Regions from separate parts of the Homo sapiens genome. Here region 2 is linked to region 1. The links are contacts of gene promoters, found by promoter capture Hi-C in human tissues and cell types (Jung and others, 2019). All regions are on one chromosome and are shown on one strand. The core of a region is centred on a gene start or on the middle of the fragment in contact, and the rest is flanking DNA. Distances in the headings are between cores, read along the strand shown. Region 1 holds the start of DBNDD1 (dysbindin domain containing 1). Region 2 overlaps PRDM7 (PR/SET domain 7).

Region 1 (6,929 bases), core at 1,492-3,991:
CAGAAATCGGAAAGAAAAATACGTTCCAGTTTAGTTCCAAATGTTTGAAATCAGTAAGTATTCCTTTCACAAAAATAAACTGCTCTTCCTGAAGAGGCCTCCTCCCCACTCCTCACGGATGAAAAGAAACCAGAGGCTTCCCGACAGGCCCTGCAGAAAACAAACAGCTGCCACTTTCCTTTTCTAACTAATCTCTTGTTCTGAAAACTGCTAGCCATTTTACAATTTCTAAAATGAATCTGCCATCCGTGAAACCACCCTGTTACCTACATACAACCATCTATGTCACCCAGAAAGCTGAGTTTGTCATAAACAGGTGCTTTTTTTTTTTTTTTTTTTTGGAGACAGGGTCTCCTTCTGTCGCCTAGGCTGTGATCACAACTCACTGCAGCCTCGACCTCCTGGGCTCAAGCAATCCTCCCACCTCAGCCTCCTGAGAAGCCAGGACTACAGGTGTGAGACACCATACCCAGCTTTTTTTTTTAAGTTTTTAATAGAGACGGGGTCTTGCTTTATTGCCCAGAGTGGTCTCAAACTCCTGGCCTCAAGTGATCCTCCTGCCTCGGCCTCCCAAAGTGCTGGGAGCACGTGAGCCCCACGCCCAGCCCTAAGCTCTCATCTTTAACATCTTCTTAAAAAGTGGTCATCTACTTGGGAGGTTGAGGTGGGAGAATCGTTTGAGCCCTGGAGGTGGAGGTTGCAGTGAGCCAAGATCACACCACTTCACTCCAGCCTAGGTAACAGAATGAGACCTGAGACCCTGTCTCAAAAAAAAAAAGAAAAGGTCTTGTAGCAGATCTTGTTCTCCCATGTGTCTGGGGATGAAGAGTACAGAATCCATGCTCGTAGAAAGTTGTGCTGGGGGCAAAGTGTGAGAAATGAAAGAAGGCCTGGTGGACCTAGGTCTTCCTGTCCAGCTGGGGGAGGAAGTTGCCACATGAGCTGGGTTTGCTCAGGCCTCAGGCACCCACACAGTGGTGGGAATCTGAGAACCACTGTGATGAGAGACTTCCTGTTTGCCCACCTAAGTCCTGATTGTTCTTGGAGAGGAGCAGCCAGTTGGAAGAACTGCATTGGCTCAGCTTGCACAAAGCAGTGATTTATTTATAGTAAGCCCTGAGGCCTCTGTGAAGTCTGGCTGGTCACTGTGCCTGGGCAACCAGGAGCCAGCATCACTGTGCCAGACTCCCTTGGCCTGAGAGGGGCCTCCTCCCCCTGGGACAGGGTGGTCAGACAGTGACGCTGGAGAGCACAGTGGGGGTAATTATTATAATTTAACACTTACTTCACAAAACCAATATGCTAGCAGCTTCATGCTGATTGGCTTTTTGCTTCAGAAGTCTGGATGAGTGTCCTGAATTAAATAGCTGTATTAACAATAATTCCTTTCAGCAAAAAGGGCAAGAATAGGAGGGTTAGCTCAGGATAGCCTAGACAGGGTACTCATTTTTCACAAGCTAAGAGCAATCCTGGTCTGTCGGTGTGGGCTGCAGAGATGAATCATTCAGGGAGCCCTGAATTGCGGCTCCCTGGGATCCCGACAGGGCCCACTGCGACCTGTTCTTTTCATATTGAATTCGAGTTCAGATTTTTAGAAAAGAGCCTTTTCTTCACATATGTGGCTTAAGATACTTTCATTCAGTGTCAAGCTGTGCAGCTCAGAAACCCAGATAAATGGCATCTGAGTTTCCTGCAAAATCCCAGAGCAAATGTTAATACAAACAAACCGACTGCCCTCTGTCTGATGTCTGATGCTTCCTGCCACCCACTATCCACCAGGTAAACCGCCTCAGGCCACGGCATCAACTCAGTGAAGGCCTGGATGCTGGGTTAACAAGAGTGTTTATGAAGACTAGACTTTTTCTTTTCTTTTCTTTTCTTTTTTTTTTTTGAGACATACAATCATAGCTCACGGCAGCCTTGGACTCCTGAGCTCAAGCTGTGCTCCCACCTCAGCCTCCCAAAGGGCTGGGATTACAGGCATGAGTCAATGCTCCTGCAAACGGACTTTCTTTGAGAGATAAATATTGAAGTACTTACAAATGCAATGATCTAATGTGTATATAATTTGCTTCAAAATGACCCAGCAGTGGAGGGAAGTGAATGAGGACAGAGAAGCAGTGGCCCAGGCCAGGAGCTGGCAATCGCTGAATCTGGGCGATAGGGACATGGGGGTCAGTTTCATCGAAACTGCCTTGGCGCTCTCTGCAGCCCGGGCCCGCCGCCCTCTCCTTACCTCCCATCCCCCATCCCGCCCCTTCCAGCCTCCCAAGCACACGCCCTCGCCCCCACCCGCCCCCCGCGTTAATTCGCGCCATCCAGGGCGCTCTGTGAGTCTGTCATTACCCAGCGCGAGTCAGGCCCCTCCTGTGCCCCTCGCCAGCCCCGAGGGGCGCCCGCACACAGTCGGCGCCCCACACGCAAGTACCTGGAAGAGAACAAGAGGACGCCAGCGGGCGCGGCCGCCAAGTGAGTGCGCAGGAGCCCCGGACGCCCGGCCGGGGTCGGGAGGGCGCAGCCAGGTCCCGGTGGTGTCCGCGGCGGGGCGCGGCCCGCGAGGGAAGGGTCGGCGGGGGAGGGGTCCGCTGGGCCAGGGGCCAGCAGGGGGCGCGCGCGGGCCGGGGCGGGGCCGCACCTGTCCTGCGGCTGGGGGGGCGCCGGGAGGGGGCCGGGGCCCGGGAGCAGCTGCGCGCCCCGCCCCGCCCCGCGGGCTCCTCCCTGCCGCCGCGGCCCCCCGGTTGCTGCCCCGATGCGCTGCGCCCGGAGCCGGGGCCGAGTCGCTGCCGCAGCTGTTGGGGCGCCCGGGCCAGGCGACGCCGCCGTCGCCCGTGCCCCTCCCAGACCGCACCGGCCGCATGGAGCCCCCGGAGGGCGCCGGCACCGGAGGTGAGTTCAGCCCCAGCCCCCGAGACCCCCGCGCAGCGCTTCCCCGCAGCGAGCCGCAGCCCCTCCCCCCAGGGCTCACCCTTCGCCGCTCCCGGGAGTCGCGAAGACCCCTTTGGCAGCTCGGGGTCGTCCGGCGGGCCAGGGGCACCTCCCGGGCGCGGTCCCCGCGCGGGGCTGGGGGCACACGGACCGAGTCTCCGCCCCCTTGTTCTCTGCGCTCCCGGCCCGGGAAGCCGTGCCCGGCACGCTCCTTGGTGGGTGGCCCGGAGTTTCGTCCTGAGCCCCCTCCCAGCCAAGCCAGCCGGTGACCCGGGGAGCGGGGGAGGGGGGTTCCGGGGCTGGAGTTTGGGGTCCCTGTCGGTGGGGCGTGAGGGCGACGCTGGCCGCTTGCAAGCGCGTCCGCTTTGTTCGCCCAGCCGCGAGTCCCGGGGGGCGAGGGCCGTAGACTCGCGGGCAGGGATCCTGCCAGGGGCGAGGGGCTGAGATGGGTCTTGGGGATGTGGGGCATGCACGGGCGCGGCCTGCCGGGGACTCCAGAGCTGCAAGGGTGGCTGGTCCGGGAGTGGCCCAGGCGCACGCTCATCGGGGAGGGTAGGTGCGCGTGGAGCGCTCCCTGCCCTGATGGTGGAGGCCCTACTGCAGGACCTTGGAGTCGGTAACGGGAAGAAAGCTCTCAGAACCTCCCCCCTTCCCGATCAGAGACTTTTCCAAAAGGGCTTTCGGGGTTCCATTTGCCTAGGTAGGAACTTGGATGCAAACTGCAGACTCCTCCACCTGCCCAGCCAAGCCCACCACCTCCTGGTTTCCTAGAGCTCCCATTCCAGGGAGCCAGCAGGTGCCTGAGGGCACAGGCAGGCCAGCCTGCCGCTCTGGAACTACATGGGAACCTCTCAGTCCCCCAGCCGCACACAGTGGCATCCTCTGGAGCCCGAAGGGCTGTCCCCGGGAGGAGCAGGTCCACCCACCCTGTGTATCTGCAGTCCAAGGTATAGGGACAAATGCCCCAGGGCTGGTGGGTTTGGGTTTTGATTTGTCATTTGTGGGAGGGACCAGAGCTCTTTCTTAACACTGATAGTCCCAGGCTCCTGGGTATTCCCAGTAGCAGCTTTGTGGACATAGGAAGCCTGGAGGTTGGGAGTGAGGGCTTGGGGGTCTCCGAGCTGTTTCCAGCTGTGAACTGTGGGCAGTCAGGCCCCTGTGAGCCTCAATTTCCATTTCTGTCAGTGGAGACAGTTCTGCTTCCCCTGCAGGGCTGTGGGAGCCCAAGGCATTTGGGAGTGGAGGTTAATATGTTTTCCCTCCTCCTTTGGGAAAAAAGGAGGACTTCCCAGCAGCTTAAAAGGCAGAGAAAGCAGGTTCAGTTTCTGAGCCCATCAGTCACTGGCTGGGGGCTTCAGACACCTGACTCAATCAGTGCACAGGTATTTACCTACAGGTCGCAGCTCTGTGCAGTACCCTGCCTGGGGTGGGGAGTTAGTGGGAAGACAGGGCCCTGTCCTCTGAGGGCTCACGCTCTTGACACCAACTCCTGTTTCCTTGTCTGCAAAGTGGCCAGTGATGCCTACTTTGTGGAACCTCATGAGATCACACATTGGTGACTCTGTCATTACTTATCACTTACTTTTGAAAACCTTACAAAAGTAGAGAGAACGGCGGGACAAAGGCCCATGTGTGACATCCCAGCCCCCAGGCCCACAGCCTCCTCTCCAGACTACCACCAACCTCCCTTCATTAGTGGTTTGAACCAAATCTAGACATATTATTTCACTGATAAATAATTCAGAAATATCTGTAAAATATGATTTTTTTTTTTTTTGAGACGGAGTCTCGCTCTGTTGCCCAGGCCGGAGTGCAGTGGCGCGATCTCGGCTCACTGCAACCTCCACCTCCCGGGTTCACGCCATTCTCCTGCCTCAGCCTCCCCAGTGGCTGGGACTACAGGCGCCCGCCACCACACCTGGCTGATTTTTTGTACTTTTAGTAGAGACGGGGTTTCACTGTGTTAGCCAGGATGATCTCGATCTCCTGACCTCATGACCCACCCGCCTCGGCCTCCCAAAGTGCTGGGATTACAGGCGTCAGCCACCATGCCCGGCAAAATAGGATTTTTATAAAGCATTATTAAAACACTATTTTTGCAACTAAAGGAATTAATGATTTCTTAATATGAAATGTACAGAACACGGAGGTGCACGTGTGCACAGGAATGTGACCTGTGCCCTCTCTGAGGGCCCCACCTGGAAGCCAGGGCTGTAACCCACCCCAACTCAGTCTGCCCAAGGGTCCACAGGGACAGAGGGATCCTCAGGAGGCTGAGAGTCTAGACACGGCCACTCCAGCATCCCTGAAATACTTTGGGGGTCCAAATCCAGAGAGGAAGGTGCTGGGGGATGGGGGGCAGGTGGCCCCTGCCTCTGCGACCATCTCTCCTTCCAGCCATTTAGTTTTATGATATTCATTCATTCACTTCATTAGCTCATCCGTCCATACAGTGGTGTGTGCCAAGTGCCTCCTCGATGCTCTGGACGGGGCCCTGGGCACACAACAGGGAACAGGATTTGGGCCAAGTTTCCCAGTCGAGAATGTGCTGGAAAATAGGTCAGCAGCAGAGCACAGGGCATCAGCAATCAGCCCTCAGGGAAGCCTGGGGGGCCGGGCTGAGGCACCCCAACTCCTGGCTCCCTCGCTGAGGTGCTCCTTCAGTGCCCACTCATCAGCGAGGGCACCAGCAGCCCCTGCAGGGGGGTTGGGTCCCCCTTGATAGGGGCTGTGCTGGGGTAAGGACCAGAACATTGCTGTGTCCCCACACTCTGGGGTCCTTCCTGGGACATCAGAAACACCTGCTTGCCTCTGCCCTGGCCCTGGAGACCTTGGGGGCTGCCAGCACCCGCCCCCATGCCTGCCTGGCATTGAGCCTCTGGTTCCCACCCTGGGAAAAGCAGCAGGTCTCGCCCGTGAGGAATTTTCTTCTTCCTACAAGCTTGTTGAGAGGGTGTCAGACAGGCCTGGGTGATTCCTAGCGCAGTCCCTCACTAACCGTGGGCTAGTTGATTCACCCTCATTTGTTTACTGCGCACCTACTGTGCGCTAGGTCCCAGGAATGCAGCCATGAACTAGATACAAGCCGCTTAGAGCTGATGCTTCTCGCTCTACCCAGTCCCAGCCTGCTCTGGGGCTGTGCCTGGGGGTCTGGCGTGTGGCCGACTCACAGTGTATGTGAGTCTCTGTCATTTCCTCCCGGCTTTGCCTATCAGTTCCAGCCAAGATCAACCTTTGTTTCCATTGAGGATTGTTTTTAAATTGAGATATTATTCACATATAAAGTTCACCCTTTTAAAGTGTACAACTCACTGTTTCAGTATATTCACAAAATTGTGCAGTCACCACCACTATCTAATTTTATAATATCTTCATTACCCCCCCAGAAAGAAACCCATACCCGTTCTCCCCTTCTCCACTGCCCACCCCCCAGCCTCTGACGATCACTGATGGAATGTCTACGCGCTTGCCTATTCTGGACATTTCCTAGGAACGGCGTCACACAGCATTTGTCCTTTTGGGCCTGGCTTCCTTCACTCGAATGAGGTGATCAGGCTCATGCATGTGATATCCGGTGTCAGTACCGCCGTCCTTCTTGGGTTGAATCTCACTCCATGGTAGGCACAGACCACATTCTGTTTATCCATTGATCCACTGAGGACATTGGATTATTTCCACTTTTGGCTACTGTGAATCACGCTATGAACATGCATGTGCAGCTGACTCTTGAACAACGTTAAGTGTTAGGGGTGCCCACCTCCCTCAAAGTCAGAAATCCACATAGAACTTTTCACTCCCCAAAAACTTAACTGCTAATAGCCTACTGTTGACCAGAACTTTACTGATATGGTCAACGAACACATATCTGTATGCTGCATGTATTACACAGTAGGCTCAGTCATTTGAGGACCCACGAGCATGCCTTATAGCAGCTGCACGCTCTTCATGCCAAGATCCATCGTGCCCCTCCTGGGGGCTCAGGTCTTGTCCCTGGTATCACATTC
Region 2 (6,860 bases), core at 895-3,394, 55 kb before region 1:
GTGCTCGAGACCTCACCAGGAACCCAGTCTTCCTGCTCTGAACACCCCAGCCAGATGGAGAAGACAGAGCCTTGTTCTGGGTAGTGCTCAGGGCTGTTGCCCCATCTCAGCACCTTCTCCTTCCACAGGAGCCTTTGGCCTAGGAGCTGGGAGACTCAGGGGCCCTTCCCACACTCAGAATTGGAGCAGGGCCTTCTAGACAGTCCCAGCACCATGAGCCCTGAAAGGTCCCAAGAGGAGAGCCCAGAAGGAGACACAGAGAGAACAGAGCGGAAGCCCATGGTGAGAAGTCGGGGAGGCGAAGCCAGACTCCCAGCAGGAGCTGATCTCTGGAGTGCTGCAGACTCCTGGCCTGTACCCTTGGGTGACTCTGTCTGAATGTGCATGGAATGGGGGCAGCTGGTCCTGGCCAGGACATGGGGGAGAAAAGAACACTAGCATCAGCGACTGCTCTGTGTCAGCAGAGAGCTAGGAAAATGCTCAGTGTCTGCTCAGTTAAACAGGACACAATCTGGAGAAGGAGGGAAGGTCTTTATGTTTCACAGAGACTCCCAGAGGCCCCAGGCTATGCCCTACACGCAGGGTAGAGGAAAAGGACCAGCTCGATGTGTATTAGTAAATCACTGATGGAATCTGTTACTTCCTCTAGGTCAAAGATGCCTTCAAAGACATTTCCATATACTTCACCAAGGAAGAATGGGCAGAAATGGGAGACTGGGAGAAAACTCGCTATAGGAATGTGAAAATGAACTATAATGCACTGATTACTGTAGGTAACAGGAAGTGCTGGGCACAGACCAGCCTGGGCGATATAAAACAGGTCTTTGGTCCCTATATTATTTTAATTATCAGGTGGCGGCATCTGCCCACAATTCCCTTTTGCACGGAGACAAATCTGGAGGGAAATATTGTTCTTTTGCGTCAGTGCAGGGTTGTGTGTGGATACTGACCATGCAGAGGTCACATCTTGACCTTGTTCAAGACTCTCCCAGCTCATCAGACTGAGCAGCACTGGCTTTGTGGTGCTTTCCATTGCCACTGCCCTTTGTTCCTCATCCCAGCTCTTCCGTTTCAGAGCAAAATTTTTTGCTTCTTTTCAGGTCTCAGAGCCACTCGACCAGCTTTCATGTGTCACCGAAGGCAGGCCATCAAACTCCAGGTGGATGACACAGAAGATTCCGATGAAGAATGGACACCTAGGCAGCAAGGTAAGAGGGAAGGGAAGGAGGATTTTTTTTTTTTTAAAGACGGAGTTTCGCTCTTGTTGCCCAGGCTGGAGTGCAATGGCGTGATCTTGGCTCACGGCAACCTCTGCCTCCCAGGTTCAAGCGATTCTCCTGCCTCAGCCTCCCAAATAACTGGGATTACAGGCATGCGCCACCACACTCAGCTAATTTTTTGTAATTTTGTTTAGTAGATATGGGATTTCTCCATGTTGGTCAGGCTGGTCTCGAACTCCTGACCTCAGGTGATCTACCCACCTTGGCCTTCCAAAGTGCTGGGATTACAGCCATGAGCCACCACACCTGGCCTATTTTTATTTTTTTTAAGACAGAGTCTTGCTCTGTCATCCAGGCTGGAGTACAGTGGTAGAATCTCGGCTCACTGCAGCCTCCACCTCCCAGGTTCAACAATTCTCCCACCTCAGCTTCTCGAGTAGCTGGGACTGCAGATGTGCACCACTTTGCCCAGCTAATTTTTGTATTTTTTGTAGAGATGGGGTTTCACCATGTTGGCCAGGCTGGTCTCGAATTCCTGGCCTCAAGTGATCCGCCTGCCTTGGCCTCCCAAAATGCTGGGATGATGATGATGATGATGATGATGATGATGATGATGATGACGATGATGATTGTTACTATTATTACAGACAAGGTCTCACTCTGTCACCCAGGCTGGAGTGCAGTGGCACAATCATAACTCACTGCAGCCTGAAACTCCTGGGCTCAAGTGTTCCTCCCACCTCAGCTTCCCAAAGTGCTGGGATTACAGGCATGAGCCACCGTGCATAGCCCCCAGTAAGATTTAGAAGTGACCTCCTGGCCAGGCATGGTGGCTCACACCTGTAATCCCAGCACTTTGGGAGGCTGAGGCAACCATATCACTTGAAGTCTGGAGTTTGAGACAAGCCTAGCCAACATGGTGAAACCCCATCTCTATTAAAAATGCCAAAAAAGATAGCTGGGCATGGTGATGGGTGCTTATAATCCCAGCTACTCAAGAGGCTGAAGCTGGGAAATAGCTTGAACCCAGGAGGTGGAGGTGGCAGTGAGCCGAAATCGTGCCACCACCCTCCAGCCTGGGCAACAGAATGAGAAGACTCCGTCTCGGGGGGAAAAAAAAGTGACCTCCTGAAACCGGCCTCGGTTTAGGTCTCAGCTACATTTCAGAATTTAACAAAGGAAAAAGAGTCTTCCCTCAAAAACATAAATGTTCAACAAACAAGCACAATGTAATCCCAGCACTTTGGGAGGCCGAGGCAGGCGAATCATGAGGTCAGGAGATCAAGACCATCCTGGCTAACACGGTGAAACCCCATCTCTACTAAAAATACAAAAAATTAGCCAGGCACGGTGGCGGGCACCTGTAGTCCCAGCTACTCAGGAGGCTGAGGCAGGAGAATGGCATGAACCCGGGAGGCGGAGCTTGCAGTGAGCTGAGATAGCACCACTGCACTCCGGCCTGGGCGACAGAGCGAGACTCCATCTCAAAAAAAAAAAAAAATTGTCATTCTTTTTTTAAAAAAAAGAAAACATTGTTTTTGCTAAACAATGTTAATAAATCACAGAACAAGTAAAGAAAACAATTAAACTGCAAATCCACAAAAAAGCTTTCTAACACCAATCTCATAATAGTTATTGAGTTAAATGTCTTAGAAGAAATAATATTAAGTAAAGATACATCATTTATGTACATTTCATCATACTATATGATCCTCTTATACCAAAATGTATCTACTTCTTTGTCTCGATTCTGGAGCGGGTTTGAGAGAGCTGTTTAGTTGCCCTGATCTTTCCCATATGTCACTGACCAGAGACAGCATCAAGTAGATAAAATAATGTACCATAATTATAAAATAGAAGTGCAAAGCTCATTTCCTCTTCTACTGCTTGGTTAGGAGAGTTTAGAAGTAAAAACAGTCAATCTGCCCAAACTGGAGAAAGCAACTTGGATTGGGTCTACGATTTCCCCATCTGTGGATTTGAGATTCCTTAAGACCTTAATGTAATGTAAGAGGAATGAAAGGCCAGCGTTTGCTTTTCTGCAAATGTTTTGACATGAAAAGAATGTCTCTTTAGAGGGAATCTATCTCCCGTGGTTTACCACACATCTATACATCTTTATCTGAACTCAGTTAAAATCCCCAATTTAAGTCAATTTATTTTTTATTGTGGAAATCAAACAACATATATTTACTCTTCTAACAATTTTTAAGCGTACAACTTTATTAACTGTATGCACACTGTTGTGCAATAGATCCCTAGAACTCTTTATCTTGCATGACTAAAACCCTAACCCATTGAACAATAACACTCCATTTCTTCCTCCCTCCAGCTCCTGGCAACTGCAATTCTGTTTCTATGAATTTGGTTACTTTAGATACCTCATATACGTGGAATCAGCCATGAAACATTTGTCTTTTTGTGACTGGCTGATTTAATCACTTAGCAGAATGTTCCCAAGATTCACCCATGTCACAGCATGTGACAAGATTTTCTTCTTTTTTAAGGCTGAATAATATTCTACTGCATGTATATACCACATTTTGAAAATCCATTCATTTGTCAATGGATGTTAGGTTGCTTCGCCTCTTGTCTATTGTGAATAATGCTGTAATAACTATCAGTGTGCAAATATCTCTTTGAGATCGTTTTTAATTCTTTTTTTTTTTTTTTGAGATGGAGTCTCGCTCTGTCGCCCAGGCTGGAGTGCAGTGGCGCAATCTCGGCTCACTGCAAGCTCTGACTCCCGGGTTCACGCCATTCTCCCGCCTCAGCATCCCAAGTAGCTGGGACTACAAGCGCCTGCCACCACGCCAGGCTAATTTTTTTGTATTTTTAGTAGAGACGGGGTTTCACCATGTTAGCCAGGATGGTCTCGATCTCCTGACCTCATGATCCGCCTGCCTCATGGGCTCGATCTCCTGACCTCATGATCCGCCTGCCGCGGCCTCCCGAAGTGCTGGGATTACAGGCATGAGCCACCGCGCCCAGCCTTTAATTCTTTTTAATATATTATATACCCAGAAGTGGAATTTCTGGATCAGAAGGTAGTTCTGGTTTTAATTTTTTGTGGAAGCGCCATACTGTTTTTTTACAGTGTCTGCACCATTTTACATTCCCACTACTATGGTTTGAATGTGTGGAAGTTCATGTATTGGAAACTTAATTGCCATTGTAACAGTATTAAGAGGTGGAGCCTTTAAGAGGTGATTTGGTAATGATAGCTCCAACCTCATGAATGGATTAATGCCATTATCACAGGAGTGGGTTAGTTATTGCAGGAGTGGGTTCCGATGAAAAGGATGAGTTGGGCCCTTCCCTGTCTTTCTCTCTGTCTCACATGCACACTTACCCTTCTACCATGTCATGATGCAGCTTGAAGACCCTTGCAAGATGCCAGTGCCATGCTCTTCAACTTCCCAGCCTCCAGAACCACAAGCCAAATAATTATTTTCTTTATAAATTACCCACTCTGGGCCAGGCACAGTGGCTCACGCCTGTAATCCCAGCACTTTGGTAGGCCAAGGCAGGCAGATCACAAGGTCAGGAGTTCGAGACCAGCCTCGCCAGCTTGGCAAAACCCCATCTCTACTAAAAATACAAAATTAGCCAGGCATGGTGGCATGCACCTGTATTACCAGCTACTTGGGAGGTTGAGGTAGAAGAATCACTTGAACCCGGGAGACAGAGGTTGCAGTGAGCCGAGATCACACCACTGCACTCCAGCCTGGGCAACAGAACGAGACTCCATCTCAAAAAAACAAACAAACACATAAATTTCCCACTCTCTTGCATTCTAGGAAAGCAGCAGAAAACAGACTAAGCTACCCACCAACAATAAGCAAGTGTTCTAATTTCTCCACATCTTCGCCAACATTGCTATTTTCTGGTTTTTTGACAGAGGCTATCATAACAGGATAAGGTGATATCTCATTGTGGTTTTAATTTTCATTTCCCTAATGATTAGTGATGTTAAGCATATTTTCATATGCTTCTTGGCCATTTATGTATCTTCTTTTGAGAAATGTCTATTCAAGCTTTTTGCCCATTGTATTAGTCAGCCCAGGCTGCCACAAGAAAATACCACACATTGAGTGGCTTAAACAACAGAAATTTGTTTTCTGACATTTCTGAAGCCTGGTAGTAAAAAATCAGAGTGCCAGCATGGTTGGGTTCCAGTGAGGGCTCTCTTCCTGACTTGTAGTCAGCCTCCAGCTCACTGTGTATTTACATGAATTATTTGTGTGCCAACAGCAGGAAGGAGAAGAAATTTCTCTCTTCCTCTTATAAAAGCAATAATACCTACTAGAAGATTTTTTTTTAGACAGCCTCATTCTGTTGCCACAGGCTGGAGTTCAGTGGTGCAATCTCGGCTCACTGCAAACTCCACCTCCCGGGTTCAAGCAATTCTCCTGCCTCAGCCCCCCACATAGCTGGGACTACAGGGGCACATCAGCTAATTTTTGTATTTTCAGTGGAGATGGGGTTTTACCATGCTGACCAGGCTGGTCTCAAACTCCTGGCCTCAAGTGATCTGCCCACCTCAGCCTCCCAAAGTGCTGGGATTACAGGCATGAGACACCGCACCCAACCAAAAGCACTAATGTCATCCTAAGGGTCCCACCCTCATGACATCACCTAGCCCTAATTACCTACCAGTGGCTCCATCTTTAAATACCATCATATTGAGGTATTAAATGTGCTTCAGCATATGAATTTGGGGGAAACAAAATTCAGCCCATAGCACCCATTATTTAATTATTTGTTTTGTTGTTGTATTATAGGAGTTCTTCATATATTCTGGATATTAACTCTTTCTTCGTTTTTTTGTTTTTTGTTTTTTTTTTTCAGACAGAGTTTCGCTCTTGTCACCCCGGCTGGAGTGCAATGGCGTGATCTCAGCTCACTACCACCTCCCCATCCCAGGTTCCAGCGATTATTCTGCCTCAGCCTCCCGAGTAGCTGGGATTACAGGCACACACCACCACACCCAGCTAATCTTCTGTATTTTCAGTAGAGACAGGGTTTCACCATGTTGGCCAGGCTGGTCATGAACTCCTGACCTCAAGTGATCCATCTGCCTCGGCCTCCCAAAGTGCTGGGATTACACCCATGAGCCACAGTGCCTGGCCTGGATATTAACTCTTTATCTTCTTTTTTTTGAGACAGAGGTCTCACTATGTTGCCCTGGCTGGTCTCGAACTCCTGGGTTCAAGTGATCCTCCCACCTCAGCCTCTGAATAGCTGAACTATAGTCATGTGCCACTGCACTCAGCAACATTAACCCTTTATCAGATACATGGTTTGCATATATTTTCTTCCACTCTGTAGGATGCCTTGACACTGTGTTGATTGTTTTCTTTGCTACACAGAAGTTTTTAAGTTTGATGTAGTCCTACTTGTCTATTTTTGCTTTTATTGCTTATGCTTTTGGTGTCATATACAAGAAGTTATTGTTCATTTCAATGTCATGAAGCTTTTCCTCTGTGTTTTCTTCTTGAAGTTCTGTACTTATAGACCTTACATTTCAGTCTTTAATCTATTTTGAGTTAATTTTTATATGAGATATGTGGTAAGAGTCTGTCTTCTCTTTTGCATATGTATATCCAGTTTTCCCAACACAATTTCTTGCAGACTGTC

The links. Contacts are between HindIII fragments. The study calls those that stand out against the background at their distance.
Region 2: a contact is called between a fragment that was not itself captured here and the fragment with the promoter of DBNDD1 in region 1, in 1 of the 25 tissues and cell types used here (pancreas).

What each region holds. Positions count from the first base shown.
Region 1 is chr16:90,015,268-90,022,196 of GRCh38, reverse strand. DBNDD1 (dysbindin domain containing 1) reads left to right here and starts at 2,741. Exons shown (of 4, transcript NM_001042610.3): 1 at 2,741-2,886. The coding sequence starts at 2,856. It also overlaps a transcript of DRC4 not described here. RefSeq lists silencers at 1,442-1,736, 2,483-2,622. The HindIII fragment of the contact is 9,907 bases long and covers 1-6,700 here.
Region 2 is chr16:90,069,264-90,076,123 of GRCh38, reverse strand. It overlaps PRDM7 (PR/SET domain 7), which reads left to right. Exons shown (of 11, transcript NM_001098173.2): 2 at 129-282; 3 at 650-773; 4 at 1,101-1,208. The coding sequence starts at 214. Among named protein-coding and RNA genes, the nearest start is that of PRDM7, 4.6 kb to the left of the region's middle. The HindIII fragment of the contact is 7,666 bases long and covers 1-5,977 here.